Regions from separate parts of the Homo sapiens genome. Here all the other regions are linked to region 2. Evidence: promoter capture Hi-C in 16 types of primary human blood cells and fetal thymus (Javierre and others, 2016). All regions are on one chromosome and are shown on one strand. Each heading gives the region's core, a stretch centred on a gene start or on the middle of the fragment in contact. The rest is flanking DNA. Distances are from core to core; before and after follow the strand shown.

The links. Contacts are between HindIII fragments. The CHiCAGO score rates a contact against its expected background, and 5 or more counts as called.
Region 1: a contact is called between a fragment that was not itself captured here and the fragment with the promoter of MLLT10 in region 2, in 1 of 17 cell types (total CD8 T cells). The highest score is 5.5, in total CD8 T cells.
Region 3: a fragment that was not itself captured here is called in contact with the fragment with the promoter of MLLT10 in region 2 in 1 of 17 cell types (neutrophils); the score reaches 5.3 in neutrophils.

Annotation. Positions count from the first base shown.
Region 1 is chr10:22,556,341-22,561,301 of GRCh38, reverse strand. The region is part of intron 6 of PIP4K2A (phosphatidylinositol-5-phosphate 4-kinase type 2 alpha); the gene reads left to right. Among named protein-coding and RNA genes, the nearest start is that of LINC03027, 120 kb to the right of the region's middle. The HindIII fragment of the contact is 3,568 bases long and covers 1,725-4,961 here.
Region 2 is chr10:21,531,853-21,536,737 of GRCh38, reverse strand. It overlaps MLLT10 (MLLT10 histone lysine methyltransferase DOT1L cofactor), which reads right to left and starts at 2,506. Exons shown (of 23, transcript NM_001195626.3): 1 at 2,218-2,506; 2 at 1,934-2,093. The coding sequence starts at 2,093. RefSeq lists enhancers at 19-532, 796-1,508, 2,224-2,937 and silencers at 1,569-1,658, 1,799-2,138, 2,249-2,318, 2,329-2,858. The HindIII fragment of the contact is 10,036 bases long and covers 1-4,885 here.
Region 3 is chr10:23,444,010-23,448,374 of GRCh38, reverse strand. No RefSeq gene overlaps it. Among named protein-coding and RNA genes, the nearest start is that of OTUD1, 7.1 kb to the right of the region's middle. The HindIII fragment of the contact is 1,543 bases long and covers 1,120-2,662 here.

The DNA.
Region 1 (4,961 bases), core at 2,259-4,758, 1.0 Mb before region 2:
AACAATGGAATCACTTTCATGGCAACAAGTCTCAGAACATGCATGTACAGATGTCTTGAGGTTTTTTTTAAGAGCAGAACAGTGCTTTAAAAAAAAATAACCATTGTCAAATTCTGACAGCTGCTATGACTTGTTTTATTCTTTAATTCTTTCCTTTTTAATGGAAGGGCATCTCCCATTCATGGCTCCAGCAGTTTCGCCTCCTCTAAATGAGACAGAGAAATGTGAACCTCCCTGGTGGTCGATCTTTTCACAGCTGCGCTGCAATTCCAGTGTGACATCAAATTAGTAATTATAGCTGAGCGGGCTGCTTTTTACAAATGACAGTCTTAGCATGCTGCCTGCTAGCGAGCGACTCAGCAGGGGACCTGGGGAAGTAAAAGAAAACATAACTGGACTCACTTGATTTCTGGGGGATTTGACCTGACTCTTTAAAAAGCCCATGTTCTTGAGAGAGAGAGTCCTGGGGATTTACACAAATATGCATTTTGTTCATCATCCTGCACAGTTCTTCTCAAAACTCATGTCTGATTTTATTAGGTAAAGTAAAGTATGTGTAATGGAGCCATAGGGTCACAATAAGAAGATCCCTTTTAACATACAGCCTTCTTCCTGAAACCCATTTGAAAGAAAACAGCTGCCCTGCAATTGGCATTTGTGTAACTGTATTGGCAATAATCATTGTTGACACTTTGATAATGGGCTACAAAAAGCCGCCTTGTCGATTCTCAGGCACTGTGAATTGCACCAGCAATTAAGTGACTGTCACCGTCTCCGACGTTTTACCTATTACCAACTGAGGGTTCGAGAGGATTAATCATTAATACCCTTACGTCTAAAAATGCTTTTCGAAACCAGTTTTCAGCATTTCTTTTGTGGTCTTTAAATTGTAACAAATTATAATTAATTACTACCCCTATCTGGTCATCTGGGCTGCCATTGAAGTGAGGTGGCCAGGGCGGCGGGCTCCCCAAACGTGACACAAAAGCACAGCAGCGTATCCTTCTGGAAATCTTTATTTGCCGCTCAGCTAAGAAGTGCCTCTTTTTCCACTGTGGGCGGATCATCGGTTAAAGGGGGGTTGTCAAGCTTTTTAGGCCCTCAATTCAGCTAATGCTTTAACCGCCTTCTGTAAAATTCCTTTTCTTCCGAGATAGAAGGGAATCATTTCCCTTTGCCAGCCAGTGTTAGTTAGGGACACCAATCCTACTACCCAAAGTGCAGGGGAAAGTTTCCCACTAGGGCAGAAGCAGGGCTTCTTTCTCAGACCTTAAAGGTGGCACCAGTAACATCTACCTTCTGGACCAGAGACATTTTATAAAAGGGAGATTTGGGTGAAGGACTCCAAACAGAGGGTTAGGGGATCTGAGTCCCAGCCCTGGGGGCACAGGGCTGCATTAATGGGGTTTGAGTATAGGTCATCTGACTTTGTCCTCGTTTGTAAAATTAAAGGATTTGCTTGCGTCATTGCTCCTCATGCTGTAGTGTTGGTGAGAATCTCTTGTTTCAAATGAAGCTTTCCTGGACCTTCCTCCAGAGATGTGGTTCAGCAGTCGGCCCCACTTGGAGAAGTCCTGGCCTGACCATCACTAAAATCTTCTCTATTCCAGATATAGATTAAGGTGATTGCTATGATTGATGGGGAAAAAAATGTTCTGTTCAGCAAATATAGATAAGAACCCCATAAACCATGAGGGGTATTCTGGAAATGAAGTTTTAAAGCTTCATTTAGAATATCTCGTAACTGGTAAGCATGGCACGTGACAAAAAGAGAGGATCACATGCAGTGACTCTTGTGAGCACTTTCCAGATTTTCACTCAGATGACAGCATTAAAATCCTCAAGGCTTTATGACTTATGGCTTATGGTGCTTCATCAGCTCTCATTTGCCTCAGATTAATTTTTATCTCACTGGAATGAAATCAACTCAGAGTATCCCAAGCACACGTGGAGCACTGCTGTTAGGTATGGGAATGTTTTCACGCTAACAACTCGTAGTTGGTTCTAGAAAAAGTTGGGGTGGAGAGAAGACTTCCAAAATTCAGTATGTGGTCTGAATTTAAACCAAGCTGCTACAGATGTGTAATTCTTAATTAAATAATGATCTTTAACATGGTAGTATTAAACCAGAGATCTAGAGGAGTTAGCAAACTCCTTGAGTGTTCAGCCTTTGACATTTCTTAGATTATCACCATAGATATCTGCGCACCAGAATCTTCTGTTACGACTGGAACGAAGCCATCCCGTAGGTCCTATTTTGTAGGTCTTGTATGCAGTTCAGCTGTCATATCCCAGTTTGTGGAGGAAGACCAAACCGTCACCTTTGACATTACCACATAGAGTTGTCATAAAATATGACAGTATTAAAAAAGGAATAAATTTTACTTTTTACGTATTAGCTTGAGGGAAAATTGCCAACAGCTAGGTCTTGCCAGCCCTAACAGTTATAACTTAACGCTTCTCCAGTTTTGCGCGGCTTACTTACAGCACTGTTTCACAAGTATGTTGAGGTATATTCTCTTTCCACATTCATACATAAACAGATTCAAAATAAAAATTATAAGATGTTCACATCTGGATGCTAGTCACAGATGTGCACATTCTCACTGTTTTCACTGTGAAAATTAGAAGTTATTAATGACCTCTTAGATCATTTCTCAAACCATGAACTTGTATAGACATTCTGCTTATGTAGTTAAAGGAGGTTGGCATATGTACTATTTGTGCAAAACCACCCTTTTTCTTTGCTACTTCTGTATGAACTTTATCCGTATCCACTAATTTGCCTTTTGATGTATCAAATTTGTGGCTTAGATGTTCCAAGAAGCAGAACTGATTTTATTATAAATCTCCAGCATCTCTTATTACCCCAGAATTGATACCAAATATGTTACTCCATCAAATTATTTTTATCCTAGCTCCAACATAAGGATTACCTAAAATTCCTTCCCTTATAGAAATACTTGTGAATTATGTTTTCAGTTCCATAGATGCTGATTTTTATGAAGATTTTTGCAAGCACGGCAAAAGGGGTTTTATTCTTTTTTGCAAGTTTATTTTCATTTGGGTGAGCTTGGAATTACAAGTAAATCAGGAACACAAGCAGTTCTAACATAAAACAATAATTACTACGTATTTTTTATGTGGAGCATTCAGCTCTGAGTGTCACAGTGACAGCGTATCAAAAGGACACCCGGCAGCAGTCTTTGACATTGAGGCTTACAATTAGACTTAAAAAATAATAAATAGGTTGCCAAATGAGCATATCAAACAAAAAATTCATTCCGAAATACAAGTCCTTTAATCACAGAGTACTATGATATGTATTATCCTTTGCATTAAAACCTAGTGCCAAAATCCTGTTTGCATTAGACACTCAAGTGTGACTGGGTGCATTTCTTCTTCCCAGTAAAGTTTCCATCCAGACTAAAATAAAAACTTGGCTCTATATTATAAAGATTTTGGCTCTGTGCATTTTAGGTTCATGTATTTTCTATTTCCAGTTATTAATGGCCATTTACCCATACTGTTGGCTCTTGTTGTATAATTAAAGTTTAGAATGATCATTAAAAATCCAATGATATTTTAGTTTGAATTCTGTTTAATGTTTCAAACTATAGTTTGAAATTTGTGATTTTTAAAAATTTTGTGTCATCTGAAAGATAGTTTTTTAAAATCTCACTAAAATAAAATGTTCATATAACTTCTGGCTTTACTAAACCTTAGAATATCCAATATTGCTCAACTCCATATGAATGACAGCAGTTATGCATCAAATTACAGAACCTCATGAAATAAGCACATATGTACACATACACGTGAGTTAATTCCCACTTCAAACAAACAAAGCATTTAACTCTTTTGGTAAACACATTGTTTTGGTTTTGGTTTTAGAGATTCTGCAAAAGTTCTTAGTCATTTGGAATTTTTAAGCATAAAAGTACTAAATAATATTAAGCAGGAATTTTTTAGGTGTTGCTTTTTAGCTCCTTTTTATCAGTTCTGGGAAGCAAACAGTGCTGCATCTCCTTTGCTCTCATAGAATTCTGTAATTTTTATACCACAGGTCTCTGCTAAAAGGCGGCATGTGTTTAGAAATTCTAAAAATGAGGGCTCTGAACTTTGTAACTGTCCTGATACGTTTTCCCTTTTTTAATCCCAACCCCCTGGCCAAATCTGTCCTTAGAGATCATTGATACCTTGTATTGAACCCTAGGGCGTAAGTAATTCCGTTGAGAGGCTTTTATACACTGAAAGCCTTACGCGTGTGTTGGTTATCTTCAGGCTCTGACTCAGCTGAGTGTGCATCTCACTTCGCACATTCATGTTGTGTCTTAATGACACACAAACTATTTTTGACCATGACCTGTATTGTCACACAGTGTGTTTCTTACTGTTGACTTACAGTAGACTTGCTGAGGCCTGTGATGCTGTGCTTTAAAAGCCAAAAACTTTGCAAAATGAGGGAGAAATGTCTATAATAAATGTATTATATATACACAAATGTTTATAATAAATTTTCTTTTTACAACTCATAGCAAGTTAAATGTTCCCAGTGGGTTCACTGCTCCCTAGGAGTGAGTTCACCATTCCCTAGTATTTTGGTTATATTTTCTGGCTACTAAGATTTCAGCTTCTGTGGATTTTTGCTTTAGGTCAGCAAAACAGCATTCACTAAATTATCCACTATTATAATGTGCTGAGAAAAAACTAACCCATGGAAAATTAAGGTAAGACAGAAGTCAGCAAATTTCTGTCTTTGGCCAGATACGTAAAATCATTACATTTTATTCCATATATTGAATAAAGATCATAAATTTCAAATTCTTTATTACTTCAGGAATTTAACCAGTCCAATTTTTATGATAAGATAGGGACATTTTACTCTCATTTGGGTTTCAGTTTAAACAAAAGGTCTTTTCAGTGAGGTTTCCTACTAGGAATAGCTTTTGCAGGTGATC
Region 2 (4,885 bases), core at 1,257-3,756:
AAATTAGCCCGACATGGTTGTCCAGGCCTGTGGTCCCAGCTACTGGGAAGGCTGAAGTGGGAAGATGGCTTGGAAGGTCAAGGCTGCAGTGAGCTGTAATAGCACCCTGCATGCCAGCCTGAGCCACAAAGTGAGACCCTGTCTCAAAAAAACAGAATTTGTAAAATGTGTCTCACTATAAATGCTCTATCCGTCAAAAAACACAGCATAGGTGTCCAAAACACAGCATCATTGCCCAAAAACTTTATTCAGGTGTACTTCTAGGAAGGAAAATTTAAGATTTGAATAAAAATTTTCTATATTGGGACATAGAAATTATCAAATTTTGATAGTTTATCATCCAATTCATAAGAAATTCCAATTCATAAGAAATTCATTGGCCTTCAAAATGCCAATGAACATGGGATGACCTTAAAATCAGTATCTGGTTTGACACGCATTGTATTCACTCCCTAAAAAAGCAAGACATGCAACTTGGCTCTTCTTTAAAAGTCTAGGGCCAGGCGCAGTGGCTGACGCCGGTAATCCCAGCACTTTGGGAGGCCGAGGCAAGAGGATCACCTGAGGTCAGGAATTTGAGACCAGCCTGGCCAACATGGCGAAACCCCGTCTCTACTAAAAAATACAAATTAGCCGGTGTGCTAGGGTGTGCTTGTTATCCCAGCTACTCAAGAAGCTGAGGCAGGAGAATCAATCGCTTGAACCCAGGAGGCAGAGGTTGCAGTAAGCTGAGATGGCACCACTGCACTACAGCCTGGGTGACAGAGCAAGACTCCGTCTCAACAAAATAAAAAGTAAAAAAATAAAAGTCTGGGAATAAACAGCATTCTCAGAGTAAGTACACTACCTCAGAATCATCACCACTGCTTCTAAAGTCTCCCTTTCCAAGTGTGACATTCGTTTCTCTACAAAATGCACTTTAGCAGATGTTCAAATTTTCGTCTCCCTTTTGGTGGTAGTCCTTTCCAACAGACTACTAAAAACATATGCATCGCTTAATGCCAGATTCAGAAATGCGAAGGGACATGGAGCCACCAAAAAAGAATATAGACTGTTTTGTCCTGGATTCCTTACCACGTGAAATGGGGAAAAGTCGGCCACTTCAAAGGCCAGAAAAGTATCTTACTAGTGTCCTCGGCCTTCTTGTATATCCAAAAACCTCATCAATTGTTAACAACCAGAAATAAACTAAGAGGCTCCCCAAAAGTGACTTGGCACCGCCACCTCTTCAGCCACCTAGGCTGGTGGTGGCCTGCCGCGGCCACCCCACAGGCGCTGCAGCAGCCCCGCCACTCCCGCATGGTCAGCAACGGACTCCGCCATCTCCTCCGCAGACAGCTACCGGGCGGCGGCGGCAGGGCCCGAGCCTTCTGGCTCGGGGTGCAACGGGCCCCGCATCCCTCCCCATCTAAAGAGGCAAGGCGACCCCCAGCCTCCCCACACTGGCGCCGCGTTCCCGAGCCCGTCTCCACGCCACAGGAAGTCTCCAAACACTGCGGCAGACAGGCGGCTGCAGGCCAGGGGAGAAGAGGGCGCTCCACTCTCCCAAACCCACCCCCGTGGCCCCGGGAACCCCGGGAAGGGCGCGCACCGCCCCCGCCCCCGCCCCCGCCCCCACCCCGGCCCAGATCTCGAGGGCGCGGCCGCCGCCCTGCCCCGCCCCGCCCCGCCGAGTCAGCAGACCCCGGCCCCAGGCGCAGGCGGCGGCCGAATGACACTTGAGAGAGTGAGAGCGGAATCACATGACAGTCCGGGCCACACGCACTTTCTCCCACATGCGCGGCCCACACCCCCCGCGCCCCGCCGCGGACCCTCCGCGTCCCTCCCGCGGCCGCGGCACGGGGCGGGGGCGCCGGCGGTTGCGGCCCAGGTGGGGGCGGCGGTGACCGTTGGGCGCAGGCCGGCGCGCCCCGGCGGGCGGTTGGGTGTTTACCTTGATGCACCGCGACGCTGCAGCCGTGCCCGTCGCAATAAACCAGCGGGTTCTCGGCCCAGCCTCTCTCGTCTGAGCAAACGCAACAGCCTCCAATCATCTCCTTCATACTATGGGAGACCTCGTCCTCCAGTGACACGGGCCGGTCGCTAGAGACCATCTAAGAGGGAGTTGGGGGGACCATTAAAAAACACATGCAAGCCGATTAGTGCTTCCCCCCCACACAGCCCCCCGAGCCCGCCCCGGCGCCCCCCGCCCGGCCCGGCAGCCCACCGCTCGCTCACTCGGGCTTTGCCGCTCAGTCACTCACGTTCCGCACAGGAGTCAGGAGCCATGTCCTTGCTGATTCCCCCCACCTCCCCTCCACCGCCTCCTCCGCCTCCTCCTCCTCCTCAGCGTCTTCCCTCCCCACCTCCACCCGGCCGCTAACGCGGGCGCCCGGAGAGGGCACACATAATCAAGAGGGCCTCCGCACAGGCGCACTGGGGGGAGGGGGGGCTCCCGCTGGGCCAGGGGCAGCGAGGGAGGGGAAGGGGGCTGCGCTTCCTCCTCGGAGCGTCACTTGGCGTGCGCGCCCGTCCTGCGGCCGGCGTGAGGGAGGAGGCCTGGGCGAGGCTAGCCCTGCGTGCGCGCTGCCGCGGCCTGTTGGCTGCCCCCGGCCTACCTCCGGGGCCCCGTCCCCCTCCCCCGCGCCGCTCGCCGCCGCCGAGGTGTGCTGGGGGTGGGCGCGAGGGGAGCCGGCGGCGCGCGGAGGCCGGAATGAACGGGCGCGGGGGCGCGCACGCGGGGGCGGGGACGTTAGGGCCGCCCTCTGCAGCGCTGGTGGCGCGGGCCGCGTGTGAGCGTCGGGAAGAGGCCTGGGAGGTGGCGGGGGAGGTGGACGCCCAGGGCTGGGAAGGGGTTTTCTCAGAATCGCCAGAGGGGAGTCCCCGGGGGCATCATCTCCGTGCCCTGGGAACCTACCTGCTGGCCTTTTCCTCCAAGACTGGCCCGTGGAAAACGAGGGTGGGGCGAGTGTGCCAGCTTCCATGAAGGGTGTAATGAAGCATGGCTTCCTGCAGTTGGCCGCGCTAACTTCACAGTGCTGCCGCAGCCACTCCACCCATTAAATTCACGTCCTGGACTCTTCCCAAAGTTCACCCGCTGGAAGTCCTACCAAATCTGCCGCCCATTTTCGCACTACGTGGGCCCCAATGACAAACGAAAGTGTATTCCAGGCTGAAGGTCAAAAGCCTGTGTTAGGGCTGCACTCGGAGAGGGAACGCCAAGGCGCCCCTCAGCTCGGTGTGCAGGACAAATGGTGGTTTATCCGGAATTAGCAATATAATACGATGATCCGGAAAATGCAGTTGTATTACACCAAAAGGAAGAAGGAACTCTAGCCCTCCTAGTCAGTCGCTAAAACATAATTAACGCCATCAGACAGTGGCGTCCAGTTTTGATGGAGGATTCCTCTGATCCGGGTCTTTTCTCCAAATTTATACTTGGAAATGTGAGGTCATTTAAAAGTGGCAGAAAGATGAGAGCTCCCACCTCACAAACAAATGGAAAATGGATTAGGCCTATCTGCATAGATTAATTAGCTGGATGCTGAGCACTTTTAAACTAAAATCTTCCACTGTCTGCCTATTCCTTATGCATCCGTAAAGCCCAATATTGATGTTTAAGCAAAAAATGTCTAATTAGAAAAGTTTCGCATGAAATCAGAATTATGCATAGATTGTTTAAATGACAAGCCCAGTTAAAAGGCGAATTCATGACTTTTGATTAATACCTTGCAGGTACAAAATGGTTCTTTATCAGCAATTCGCATTATAAATGTGCTGATCTGGAAGATGCACTTTCACAGTGCTAAAGCATAGAGAACCCAAGTTCTCCTAGTCGGTCGCCAAAAGATAATATAATGGTTTGGGCTTTAAAAGCCTTCTAAATGTTCTTCTGATAAAGGGGGGTTAGAAAAGGTATCATGGCTGTTTTTCTATTTCAAATTAATTGCTAGAAATCTGTGTAAGAGTGATAATAGGTATACAGCACAATGAGAGCATATATAGCAAATTCAGATGTTTTAAAAGCTGAGATATACAAAGTAATGGCAATTAAAATATACACTAAAACAATGAGAATTCACATAGTGCATTTAGAAAAGGTGACTACAAGACTACATAATATGAATTCTTTTTTGGGATGTGACAACAATTAATACATTTCTGGATATATAATAATTATATTTTTTAACTACCTTAAAAATTTATGAAACTAAAACGGGCTTCAAACAAAACTATACTGTCTTGTGTATCTTAACCATATATTTTATCTTCACCCTTATACAAAGGATACCAGCTCAATATCCAAGTCCTGTTCAGACTCTTACTATAGAGCAATTCTGAGTTAAAAATCAGTGTGAAACTTCCCCTCCCAAACACTGCAGCCAAGCCTTAATGCATTAAATTATTTAAAAACACATTTGTTTTATTTTTAATGCATTGGAGCTTAGTTCTTGTGAAGGAATTAATTTGTATGTAAAGAAGGATGGGTACCTTGCCCTATTCTTTAACACTTAAAACAAATGTAAGTAAACACTTGCTATTTCCTAAACAAAACAAAAAAAATGTATCATTTGTAAGAGGTTTCAGAAATTTTTAAAAATAGGGAAAATGTATTATTTCATAACAGCCTGTATATAAACAATAGTATCTGAAACAAATTTTGTTAAAGATGTATACATAAGTGTTCACAAAATATAATTCAAATTATTTAAAACTGATTTTAACATATGTTGAGTATGAAAATTATAAGAAAAAACATGAGTGTAAATAACTCATTTTCATTTTAACTTGTACCAGATATCAAACTTTTTCTTGTATATCTGAAGTATAATATTTTGTATATTTCTATAAAATGTTAAGTGAAAAGGAAGAAAAGCAGACAGTATAAAACAGTAAAACAGTTCAA
Region 3 (4,365 bases), core at 642-3,141, 1.9 Mb before region 2:
AATTAGGGAGAGAAAATTCAAAGATAACTGTCATATCTGTACCGGACGCATCTGTGCACACTTTGATTTGGAGTCTGCATGAGGACCTAATATTTGAATTCCCTTGTAATTACCGCAGCTTTGTGGACCAGAAAACTAATAAAAAATGTATAAACAAACTAGGTGTGGTAGCTCACACCTGTCATTCCAGTGACTTGGTAGGCTGAGGTGGGAGGATTGCTTGAGGCCAAGAGTTAAAGACCAGCCTGGGCAACACAGTGAGACCCTGTCTCTATATTTAAACATATATATATCAGCCATGGTGGCTCATGCCTGTAATCCCAGCACTTTGGGAAGTCAAGGTGGGTGGACTGCTTGAGGCCAGGAGTTCAAAACCAGCCAGGACAACATAGTGAGACCCCATCTCTACAAAAGAAAAAAAAAATTAGCCAGATGTGGTGGCCCACACCTGTGGTCCCAGCTACTCCAGAGGCTGAGGTAGGAGAATTGCTTGATCCCAGGAGGTCGAGGCTGCAATGAACTGTGACTGCACCACTGCACTCCATCCTGGGTGACAAAGAGCAAGACCCTATCTCAAAAAGGACATAATTAAAAATTTATAAACAGGCTGGGAACAGTGGCTCATGCCTAATCCCAGCAACTCAGGAGGCCCAGATAGGAAGATTGCTTGAGCCCAGGAATTCAAGACCAGCATGGGCAACATAATGCTAGCTACTCAAGAGGCTGAAGCAGGACGATTGCTTAAGCCCAGGAGTTTACGGCTGCAGTGAGCTATGATCACGCCACCGCACTCCAGCCTGGGTGACAGGTCAAGATCCTAGCCCTAAAAAAAAAAATACAATAAATAAAAAAAAAAAGGTATAAATAGAAGAAAGACAACAGCAGGGACACACTATGAAGGATTATATATGGTAGGGAGGAAACAAAATATTAACTAGGCCATGACAAATCAGCTCCAATTTTGAGATTTAATATAGCCAACCCATTTGTTTTCTGAATATGTCACTGCACACACTCAGAGATCCCTTAATCAGACAAATCCAGGATACCACTAAACAATGAAAAAAGAAGACAAGGCAAGCAGCAAAAAAGCACTCTGGTTGACCAAAAACTAAAGCTTAAACACATTACTTACAGCAGAGCATCACAGTTCTGAATTAGAAACTCATTTCTAGTATGACAGGTTGTGTTATTTAAAAAAGAGAAAACCATTTCTTATGATTTTAGAGTCAATTCTGACAAGCACATTGATTAGTGTCTCTAACTGAACATAGAAAATCATAGTGGGAATTGAGGTTGGAAAGTGACAATGGTAAGAGCTTTTATAATGCGAGGAAGTAGACAGGAAAAGTATAATCACAAAGATAAAATTCCCAGCACTAGCTGGGCGTGGTGGCTCAGGCCAGTAAACCAAGCACTCTGGGAGGCTGAAGGGTGAGGATCACTTGAGCTCAGGAGTTTGAGACCCCATCTCTACCAAAAATAATAATAAAAAAATTAGCGAGGGAGAGGTGTGGGATGGTGGCATGCACCTGTGGTTCCAGCTACTCAGGATGTTGAGATGGAAGGATCGCTTGAGCCCGGGAATTCAAGGCTGCAGTGAGCCATGATCATGCCACTGCACTCCAGCCTGGGCAACAGAGTGAGATCCCATCTTGAAACAAATTAAAAAAAAAAAAAGTCCTAGCACTCTGAGATCCCTTTAAGTACAAATGAACTGTCACATTTCAGCCATCTGCAAGCACTAAAGCACTAAATGATTAAACCATATTTAGTTTTTTTGTTTTTTTTTTGAGACGGAGTCTCGCCCCGTTGCCCAGACTGGAGTGCAGTTGCGCTATCTCAGCTCACTGCAACCTCCGCCCCCCGGGTTCCAGCGATTCTCCTGCCTCAGCCTCCCGAGTAGCTGGGACTACAGGTGTGAGCCACCACGCCCAGCTAATTTTTGTATTTTTTAGTAGAGGCAGGGTTTCCCCATATTGGCCAGGCTGGTCTCAAACTCCTGACCTTGTGATCTGCCCACCTTGGCCTCCCAAAGTGCTGGGATTACAGGCGTGAGCCACTGTGCCCAGCCTCATATTCAGTTATTTTATAAAGAAAAATTAGTACACCATAAATTACTTTTTTTTTTTTTTTTTGAGACGGAGTTTCACTCTTGTTGCCCAGGCTGGAGTGCAACGGTGTGATCTCAGCTCACTGCAACCTCAACCTCCCGGGTTCAAGCGATTCTCCTGCCTCAGCCCCTATAGTAGCTGGGACTACAGGCACCCGCCACCACGCCCAGATAATTTTTCTATTTTTATTAGAGATGGGGTTTCACCAATGTTAGCCAGCTGGTCTTGATCTCCTGACCTTGTGATCCGCCACCTCGGCCTCCCAAAGTGCTGGGATTACAGGCGTGAGCCACCGCGCCCGGCCTTTTGTTTCATATTTTACACAAAAAGGAACTGTTCAATTATTTAGAAAATTCAATTGTGAGAAACAAGGCTAGATAAGGTTTTACTGTAAGTTAACTGATGACAGTGAACTCTCCCTGACCTTTACTCATAGAATCATTGTCATTGATCTAATTTACAACAGGAAGAAATACATTTTTTTCCAACAGCTGTTCTGATCTGATTTACACTACTTGCCTTGGTCCCACTGACCAATGACATAAGCTTGCAGCCAGTATTATTGAACACAGCAGTCGTAACTCATGCTTGAAATCTGTTCAACATTTCCTTCTCAACCAGGCTACAGAGAAAACAGTCACACTAGGAATTGCTAGAGACTGGATGTGGGATGGCAGTGACCCCCAAAGCAAAACAGAGCAAGTCATTTTGGAGAAGGCAACACCTTCAAGATCACAGCAGATTAGTGAAGTTCTATTTTTAAATAATTACAGTTGACCTGGTTTCTCAAGATGTTTGGAAGATGACAGAAAGATAAAATCAATGAATTCTCATTTTTGGTTTCAAAAACCATTTTGTCAGTTACAGAATTCAATACTGCAATATCTTTTTCTATTATTTGAGTTTAAAACGCGCATAATTACTTTGTCATTAATAATTCCCAGTACCTTTAGAGTCAAGTTATTTTCATTTAATTTCACATTCTCCAACTAAATATTTTCCAAAGCTCCATTTCCCTTCAATTAATTCCTTCATTCAAAAATTTGGCGGGGTGTAGCGACTCATGCCTGCAATCCCAGCACTTTGGGAGGCCGAGGTGGGTGGATCACTCAAGGTCAGGAGTTGGAGACCAGCCTGAACAACATGGCAAAACCTCGTCTCTAATATTAAAAATACAAGGCCAGTCACAGTGGCTCACGTCTGTAATCCCAGCACTTTGGGAGGCCAAGGCAGGCGGATCACGAGGTCAGGGTATCGAGACCATCCTGACTGACATGGTGAAACCCCATCTGTACTAAAAATACAAAAAAAAAATTAGCTGGGCGTGGTGGCACGCACGTGTAGTCTCAGCTATTCAGGAGGCTGAGGCAGGAGAATCACTTGAACTCGGGAGGCGGAGGTTGCAGTGAGCCAAGATCATGCCACTGCACTCCAGCCTGGGTGAGAGCGAGACTCCATCTCAAATAAATAAATAAATAAATAATAAATAAAAATACAAAAAATTACTTGGGCATGGTGGCAGGCACCTGTAATCCCAGCTACTCGGGAGGCTGAGGCAGGAGAACTGCTTGAACCCGGGAGGTGGAGGTTGCACTGAGCCAAGACCACACAATTGCACTCCAGGTTGGGCGACAAAGCAAGACTCTGTCTAAAAAAAAAAAAAGAAAAAAGCAATTTACTGAGCACTCGCTCTGCTAGGTACTTGGGTTTGAACCCAGGGATTCAACAGGGAATGTGCCTATTGAGCTTAGTAAATTTGGGAAATCAAACTGAATTAAATGTCATCTAGTTTCTCAGTGCCTCTTTGAGATAGACATTCTAGGGATGTACAAAAAAATGACATCTGAACTTAGGATGTAACAAATAACTATTTAATGTGAACATGCTACATACTTGAATTTATCCAGTACATTTACCTACATATCAAATTATCAAACGTCCAAAGGATTACAATCTATTTTTCTTCCCTAATGCCTTTCTTCCACATGAGCACTAAATGTCATGGTAAAGTGCTAATGATTCTCAAAATGCAAAACTTGGAAAAAAATTGTATAACTTTTTTTTTAGGAAAAGCACATAAGATAAACTTGAACAAAGTAATGAAATTATCTCCAGATTTTCTTTTTCAAGGCTGAGTGTGTGATTCACACCTGTAATCCCAGCACTTTGGGAGGCTGAGGTGGGAGGATTGCCTGAGGCCAGGAGTTCAAGACCAGCCTGGGCAACACAGGGCGAACCCCCGCCCCACCGA